Regions from separate parts of the Homo sapiens genome. Here region 2 is linked to region 1. The links are contacts of gene promoters, found by promoter capture Hi-C in human tissues and cell types (Jung and others, 2019). All regions are on one chromosome and are shown on one strand. The core of a region is centred on a gene start or on the middle of the fragment in contact, and the rest is flanking DNA. Distances in the headings are between cores, read along the strand shown.

What was found. Contacts are between HindIII fragments. The study calls those that stand out against the background at their distance.
Region 2: a contact is called between a fragment that was not itself captured here and the fragment with the promoter of ITFG2 in region 1, in 1 of the 25 tissues and cell types used here (pancreas).

What each region holds. Positions count from the first base shown.
Region 1 is chr12:2,809,184-2,813,917 of GRCh38, reverse strand. ITFG2 (integrin alpha FG-GAP repeat containing 2) reads right to left here and starts at 1,250. Exons shown (of 12, transcript NM_018463.4): 1 at 1,062-1,250. The coding sequence starts at 1,157. ITFG2-AS1 (ITFG2 antisense RNA 1) reads left to right here and starts at 994. Exons shown (of 4, transcript NR_146317.1): 1 at 994-1,356. RefSeq lists enhancers at 974-1,223, 954-1,703 and a silencer at 1,334-1,423. The HindIII fragment of the contact is 16,489 bases long and covers 1-4,734 here.
Region 2 is chr12:3,057,730-3,062,020 of GRCh38, reverse strand. No RefSeq gene overlaps it. Among named protein-coding and RNA genes, the nearest start is that of TSPAN9, 18 kb to the left of the region's middle. The HindIII fragment of the contact is 4,152 bases long and covers 552-4,291 here.

The sequences.
Region 1 (4,734 bases), core at 1-2,500:
CATAAAATTGGACTGCTTGGCAGTTCATGAAGAAACACGAAAGCCCAGAAAACATAACACAAATTTATGAGAATAACTCTTTCCTCCCCAGAGAGGGTAGAGCCAAAAAAGGCCTCATAAGATACCTTCTGCATCACAGCACTAGGGGGCGGTGGGAAATAAGTACAGGACAGTTAAGGAACTGTGAAGCAGGGAGGCCGAGTAGGAAGATAGGGCAGAGGGTAGAAGGGGGCAATACAGTGCTTTGCATTAGAACTATGAAATAGATGATAAATGAAAAGATAAAGTCTGCAAAAAAAAGAGCATCAGACACTATTCCCTTTAATGCTCCACCGGAGAATCCTCTCCATACTTTAGTCAATGCATCTCATTACATTTTATTATCCGGTGACTATTACACAGCTTGATTATGAGCTATCTGAGGACTGGAACTCTCTCGTTCATTTTTGAATTCCTAGAATGTAGCAGAGTCCTTGGTGCATAATGAGCAGTTCAGTAAAGATTTGCAGAAAAACAGAATAAAATACTAACACCACCACCACCACCACTAACACTTAAGTGAGCACTAAACTGTGTGCCAGGCATTGTTTTACCTGCTTGACCTGTGGTAATTTATTTAAAAAACGAGAAGGGCTGGGCACGATGGCTCAGGCCTGTAGTCCCAGCACTTTGGGCCAACATGGTGAAACCCCACCTCTACTAAAAACACAAAAATTAGTCGGGCGTGGTGGCGGGCGCCTGTAATCCCAGCCCCTTGGGAGGCTGAGGTAGGAGAATCGCTCGAGCCCGGGAGGCAGAGGTTGCGGTGAGCCGAAATCAAGCCACTGCACTCCAGCCTGGGTGACAGACGGAGCCTGTCTCAAAAAACAAACAAAACCTCCCAAGGAACAAAACCAACCACGAACACTGAAGCTATCAATAAAGTTTTTCTCTCTAGCGCTCCAAACTAGCCACAGCGCGCATGCTCACGCTCACGTGGCACGCTCGGGCGGCCTCTTCCACTTCCCTTGCCCCGTCCCTGCACAGATCCAGGCTGTCTCTTGCGGTGCGCATGCACCTACCGTATCGTTATCAACGTCTCCGAGGCAGATTGCGTGCGGGAAGAGGCTCCCGCTGAACTCCAGCGCCACGCGCTGCACGTAGCTAACTGACCTCATGGCACCTCCAAGAGCAGAGGGAGCGGAGAGGCCCAGTAAATATTCCCTGAACCCCCGTCGCGACAGCCGCCAGAGCGGAAGGCCACCTAAGGCAGCAAGTTACGTCACTGCCTGAACCTCCAATCTCTGCCTCTTCCTCCTTTAACCTTACAGAGGAGGCGGGTCTTCCGGGCTTGGAGGCGGGCTTCCCAACTCTGATGTGAGTGACAGGCCCACGGGCCACTCCTTTTCTCCACAGGGCTGCAGACCGTGGGTAAACCAACCCTGACGGGGGTCGATCTGTTCCCTTGGCAACAGGGCTCCCAAGGGCTTGACCTAATAACCTTGACCTTTTTCCTTTGTTTCCCTGGCAATGAAGATTCCTAGCCATCAGACCATTCCTGAGAATCTTACTAATCTTCGTAATAACTGATAATTGCATGGTTTTGAAAAGTGTTTTTAAAAAACTACCCATTAGGAGTGAAAACAATGTAGTGAGTTGCAATCAGCATATAAAAAATTAAATACAATAGTAATATACCAAGTGACTCCCAGGTAGTAAGGTAAGTACAGTTTTTGTGAAACTCTTGTTTCAATTGTATATACTTATATGTGTATACTGGCTTATAATGTAAAAAAAATTTTTTTTTTCAGTGTATGTGTTTTCTGGTCAATAGTTTAAAAGCCACCTGCTGCAAAGCACATTTCACATATTTCACATAATTAGTTCAGCCACTATGCGAGCTTTTTTTTTTTTTGGCTGAGGAAAACAGGTTCAGCAAGATTAAGTAAAATGGCAGAAGGAAGGATTGTGGGGCGGGGTGCGTGCTCAAACCAGAATTGTTTGATCCCAAACCCTAGGGCCTCTCCATCATTTACTATCATAGTTCGTAGGAGAGTCTTCAGGCTGGAAGTGAAGGTTGCCTGGATTCCGGATCTGCTCTGTCTTGTGGCCCCCCAGCACAAAGCTCTTGCATCTCAACCTCAGTAGCCTTACTCTTGTAGCACAGATGGGACTGTCACTCTCATGGCTGGCTTCTTGGGATACTTTCTTTCCATGTTGAATCCAGTTCTGCCTTTCTTTGGGGTGCCTCGTCAATCAGGGCAATATTTATGAAATCATACAGGTGTTCAATACATTTTTAGATTTAGGTCTAAAAACCCAGGCTGACTCGCACTTGGTGTTTCAAAAAAAAAAAAAAAATGATTCTACCTTATCTGGGATTTTGGACCAGGGGCTGTTCCTTTTTATCTTTTTTTTTTTTATTTTTATTTTTATTTTTTTTTGAGACAGAGTCTCGCTCTGTTGCCCAGGCTGTAGTGCAGTGGCGCAATCTCGGCTCACTGCAACCTCTGCCTCCCAGGTTCAAGCAGTTCTCCTGCCTCAGCCTCCCGAGTAGCTGAGACTACAGGCGAGCGCCACCACGCCCAGCTAATTTTTAATTTAATTTAATTTAATTTTTTTTTTTTTTGAGACGGAGTCTCGCTCTGTCACCCAGGCTGGAGTGCAGTGGTGCGATCTCGGCTCGCTGCAAGCTCCGCCTCCCGGGCTCAAGCCATTCTCCTGCCTCAGCCTCCGGAGTAGCTGGGACTACAAGCGCCCGCTACCACTCAAGGAGAATTTTTTGTATTTTTAGTAGAGACGGCGTTTCACCGTGTTAGCCAGGATGGTCTCGATCTCCTGACCTCGTGATCCACCCGCCTCGGCCTTCCAAAGTGCTGGGATTACAGGCATGAGCCACCGGCGCCCGGCCGCCCAGCTAATTTTTGTACTTTTAGTAGAGACGGGGTTTCACCATGTTGGCCAGAATGGTCTTGATCTCTTGACCTCTTGATCTGCCCGCCTCGGCCTCCCAAAGTGCTGGAATTACAGGCGTGAGCCACTGCGCCCGGCCCCTTTTTTCTTTTTCTTTCTTTTTTTTCTTTGAGAGTCTTGCTCTGGAGTGCAGTGGTGCGATCTGGGCTCATTGCAACCTCCGCCTCCCAGGCTCGAGATCTTGTGTCTCAGCCTCCCAGGTAGGTGGGATTACAAGCGTGAGCCACCATGCCCGGCTTGTCCCTACTTTCTATGTCTGTACATAGTGGGAGGAGGCTGGAGGGCAAGACCTTTTCTTGGGGGAAGGGGGTGGCAGATTTTTTCCTAGATGTCCCAGTGGATCTGACAGCCAGGTAAGAAAGAACAGCAGGTCAGAACAGTAAACTGGAGGAAGTCTGGACAAATACTGGAGACTGCAGATATATTCTGAAGCTGAACTGTGTTACAAGTTCATATTTCTGGTTGTGTACTGTGGGATGGCCAGGTCCATTAAAAGGCACTGGGTCCCACAGGTATTCCTGGTGCTTTGAATACATTTTCTCATTTACAGAGCAGTTGCATGCTCCCTCACCCCGTGTTCTACCCCATCTCTATTCTCTCATCCTAGTTCAAATCCTAAGCTTCATATTAGGCCTTTAAGGGGTGGGAAAACCAAAACCAGTATCAAAATGTTCACCTCTAGGTTGGCTGTGGAGGCTCATGCCTGTAATTCCAGCACTTTTGGAGACTGAGGCAGGCAGATCACTTGAGCTCAGGAGTTCAAGACCAGCCTGGACAACATGGCAAAACCATGACTCCACCAAAAATGCAAAAATTAGCTGGGCATAGTGGTGCATGCCTGTGGTCCCAGCTACTCAGGAGGCTGAGGCGGGAAGATCTCCTGAGCCCAAGAGGCAGAGGTTGCAGTGAGCCAAGGTGGTGTCACTGCACTCCAGGCTGGGTGAAAGTGAGACTCTGTCTCCAAAAAAAAAAAAAAAAAAAAAACTTTACCTCTGAAATGGTTTTTTCTTTCTTTCTTTCTTTTTTTCTGAGGCAGTCTCCCTCTGTCACCCAGGCTGGAGTGCAATGACACGATCTCGGCTCACTGCAACCTCCGCCTCCCGGGTTCAAGCGATTCTCCTGCCTTAGCCTCCTGAGTAGCTGGGACTACAGGAGACTGCCACCACGCCCAGCCAATTGTTTTTGTATTTTTAGTAGAGACGGGGTTTCACCATATTGGCCAGGCTGGTCTTGAACTCCTGACCTTGTGATCTGCCTGCCTCGGCCTCCCAAAGTGCTGAGATTATAGGCATGAGCCACCACGCCCGGCCTCTGAAGTGGTTTTAAAAAAATATATTACTAAATAACTCAGAACAAGAGATGAGATCACCCAGCTTCTTTCATCAGGTGCCTTGGCCTGACCCAGTTATCTAAGATCAGACCCCAACCCAGGATTCCCCAGTGCCTTAGTTTTATCTTCCTCATCATTTGGGTTTCTTGGTCTGGATCTTTCTGTGACACGGGGTGTCTGTTTTTAATTGTAGAATATGTTTGCCATGAAGGTCATGTAATTATGATCACAACTTCTTTTTTACTTTTTTTTTTTTTTGAGATGGAGTCTCGCTCTGTCGCCTAGGCTGAGTGCAGTGGCACGATCTCAGCTCACTGCAAGCTCTGCCCTCCGGGTTCACGCCATTGTCCTGCCTCAGCCTCCCGAGAAGCTGAGACTACAGGCACCCGCCACCACACCCGGCTAATTTTTTGTATTTTTAGTAGAGAATGGGTTTCACTGTGTTAGCCAGG
Region 2 (4,291 bases), core at 1,378-3,877, 250 kb before region 1:
GATGGTGAACAGGTGCAGTGGGGGTACCCGCACAGGCCAGCCATGGGGAAAGGAGCAGCAGTCAGAGAAGAGGAGAGTGAATAATCAGTGATTTGGAAGTGGAAAGTCTCAACTTCCAATAGTGCCAAAGCCCAAACTGTGACTGTGGAAGTGGGTGGCTTAGTGACAGTAGAGGTGATCTTTAGGGAAGAGGGAGTCAAGAAGCTGAGAGCCCAGTTGGACTGTTGACAATTTCACCCAAACCAGGGGTGAATTGACCTAGGATGACAGCAGCACACAGGTGAGGAGGAAGTGGTGAGACTGATGCAGAGATCTTTGAAGAAGGAGGGACCTGGAGGTCGGTGGATGACAGAGGCTTTCAGGAAGGGAAGAGGGTGGCATAGCTGTATGGTTGAGGCTCAGAAAAAGCCTAAGGGAAATGGAAAGCAAAGAAGACAATGACCTTACTGCCCAGCTTTTAAGCTGTGGCACGGAGAAAATGACAACCACCACTGTAGGAGGGCTACAGAAGACACAGTGTGTGCTGGGGTATGATTTTATTTATCTATGGCTGCAGAACAAATTACTACAGATTCAGAGGCTTAAAACAACACACACTTAGTATCTCACAGGGTCTGTGAGTCAGTCTCAGCATGGCTTAGCTGGGCTGTCTGCTCAGGATCGCAGGAGACTATAATCAGGGTGTTGGCCACAGTGCCATCTGGAAGCTCCACTAGAAGAATCTGCTTCCAGCTCACTCGGGATGCAGGAGAATTCGTTTCCTGATTCCTCACTGGCTGTCTGCTGGAAGCTGCCCTCAGTTCTTAGCCACGTGAGCCTTTCCAATGTGCTGCTCATTTCACTGAGCCAGCAAAAAGTCTCCAGAACAAGTCTGTTAGCAAGACAGTCTCATAATATCACTCCATCACAGTGTGACATCCAACCCCGCTGCATATTCTGTTCATTAGAAGCAAGTGACAGGTGCACATGTACTCAAGGAGAGGGCATTACACAGAGGTGTGAGCACCAGGAGCCAGGGATCATGGTGGCCTCTTAGGGTGTGTCCTCTTCAGAAGGTGCGAGGATATAGGACGTTTGCTGGTTACGTCAGGGCAGCATGGTGGAGGAAGTGGGATGTGGGGAAGGTAGGAGCTGAGTCAGGACAAGAAAGGCTGAGCACTTGAGATGAGGGTGTGCTGGGTGACAAGGAGAGGGGCTTGGACTTTGGGGACAAGCTGATGGAGATAGAGTTATCTGCTTTTCTCCATTGCATGCACTATGAAAAAGAAATCTGCTTATTTATAAAAACCCATGTGTGGCTGAGCGTGGTGGCTCACGTCTGTAATCCCAGCACTTTGGGAGGCCGAGACAGGTGGATCACCTGAGGTCAGGATTTCGAGACCAGCCTGGCCAACATGGTGAAACCCCATCTCTACTAAAAATACAAAAAAATTAGCCAGCCATGGTGGCAGGAGCCTGTAATCCCAGCTATTCGGGAGGCTGAGGCAGGAGAATTGCTTGAACCTGGGAGGCGAAGGTTGTGGTGAGCCGAGATCGCGCCATTGCACTCCAGCCTGGGTGACAGAGCAAGACTGTCTCAAAAAAAAAAAAAAGAATAAAAATTGTTAAAAAGGTTAACTTTGTTAGATGCATGTTAATTATATTTCCTCCGGAAGCTCTCTGAAGAGCAGGTCGCAGAGACCGTCTGAGAGGAGCCCTGAAGATAACAGGGAGAAACAATGAGAAAATGACATCCCCGATCTCCAGTACCAAACGCAGGGAAGAGTCAGAAGGCGTGATTGCTCCTGGACAGCAGGAACCCATGCCGATGGTTTGAAATTGAAATCAAAGTCTCATGAATTCAATAGAGTTGGGTGAAATGAAATTGTGTGACTGTCAATAAATGACCAGAGGATGATGGTTGATAAGACACACAAGGAGTATAAAAGTGAAGATGGCACATTTGAAGCCCTTGCCAGGGTGTCTGGGATCTAAGTAGGTATACATCCATTTATGACATTAAAAAGTTCATTAATGTTTTAATTGGAATACACATATGGGGGGAAGGAGGTAGAAAAAAATATATATATATAGTTGTTTTTATAAAAGAAGAATAAGCTGGAAGTTTAAAAGGGGAGAAAAAAATGAAAACCTTTTATAACAGGGTGTATTTTTTTAAAGGACTTAGAGTTGGAGTTGAATTGGACACATCAGCACGAACTCATTTCCCAGCTCCCACTGGAGTGCACTAGAAGCAGACGCCTGCCTTTAGTTCTCACACGGATAATGTGATTCGCACCATGAGCGCCCAGACATAACATTCAACTGATAACATTTGCCACTCAAAGAAACAGGGCTCCTTGGGGAATAGCTGATTCCATACCTTGGTGCAAGAAAAATCAGAGTTGGCCTGAGCAGACTTTGCTAGAAGTATGTAAGTTAAAAAACAAAAATGTTTAAGGTAGTGTTAAAAGGAAAAAGGACGCAGCATAAAAAGTCAAAGCTGGGCCGGGTGCGGTGGCTCACACCTGTAATCCCAGCACTTTTGGGAGGCCAAGGCGGGCGGATCACGAGGTCAGGAGATCGAAACCATCCTGGCTAACACGGTGAAACCCCATCTCTACTAAAAGTACAAAAAAATTAGCCGGGTGTGGTGGCGGGCGCCTGTAGTCCCAGCTACTCGGGAGGCTGAGGCAGGAGAATGGCGTGAACCCAGGAGGCAGAGCTTGCAGTGAGCCGAGATGGCGCCACTGCACTCCAGCCTGGGCGACAGTGCAAGACTCCGTCTCAAAAAAAAAAAAAAAAAAAGAAAGAAAAAAAGTCAAAGCCAGCCAGGCACGGTGGCTCATGCCTGTGATCCCCACTCTTTGGGAGGCTGAGGCAGGAGAGTCACTGGAGGCCAGGAATTCAAGACCAGCCTGGACAACATAACGAGACCCCACATCTACAAAAAATAAAAAAATTAGCTGGGTGTGGTGGCGCGTACCTGTAGTCCCAGCTACTTGGGAAGCCGAAGTGGAAGGATCCCTTGAGCCCAGGTGTTCAAGGCTGCAGTGACATTGTCTCTAAAAAGAAAAGAAAAGAAAGGAAAAAAAGGCAAAACTGTGATCATCTGATTATCAAAAAGAAAACAAAAATGTAGTGAAAAGCTTGAGTCCATAATGGTACTGGATATGGGTTATACTAAAAGTATATGTGAGCTCCTGAAAATGTCAACTGGTTTTTGGTTGTTTTTGTTTTGCCAAAGCCAATTGTTCTGAAGTGTCCACTTTTAAAACACTGTGCATACCATAGCCAAGTTTTGATTCATAATTAAGCTATGAATTTCTTGTACTTTTTTTTTTTTCTTTTGAGACAGAGTCTGGCTCTGTCGCCCAAGTTGGAGTGCAGTGGCGCGATCTCGGCTCACTGCAAGCTCCGCCTCCCAGGTTCACGCCATTCTCCTGCCTCAGCCTCCCGAGTAGCTGGGACTACAGGCGCCCGCCACCACGCCCGGATAATTTTTTGTATTTTTAGTAGAGACGGGGTTTCACCGTGTTAGCCAGGATGGTCTCGATCTCCTGACCTCGTGATCCGCCCGCCTTGGCCTCCCAAAGTGCTGGGATTACAGGCGTGAGCCACCGCTCCCAGCCCGAATTTCTTGTACTTATGTATTTATATCAGGTAATGAGATTTAAAGGACACTCAGGGATGAAAGATGCACTGAGTTATTTAAAAACAAAAAACAAAACAAAACAAAACAGTGAGAGTTCTATGAATCTTGTTAATTCGGCAGGAAAAACTTGACCAAAGGAAGCCACCCACACTGATAATTGCCAGCCTGGGAGAAATGACTGTAGAAGGCACATCCAGGCCCCACTCCCAGACCCAGTGCCCAGGCTCCAAGCATCTCTCCATACTGGAACAGCACGGCAGCTCCAAATCTGGAACTCATACCCCGATCTGTAACCGTACCTCAGACCTACATCTTCAACTGATTTCAGCCCAACTGTGAGGCTAATTCTGCTTTCTTTCTTTGGATAGAGGCTTAAAAATAAATATAAAGAAGATGATGGACACGAACGTACATTAATACTCTTGTAATACCTTTAAGGAGTAACTACTTTAATAGCTTTAGGTAATAACTACTGCAAACACTGGGATGATTTGGGTTTTATCTGCTTTTAGTTGAGGTAAAATTCACGTAACAAAATTAACCACTAATGACTTTAAAGTATAGAATTTTAAAATCTGCTTTTTAAAGTGTTGGAAAAGTGTAAAAGCATGTGACATTAAACTTGTGATATTAGTTTAGTATTTAGGTAGATTAAGT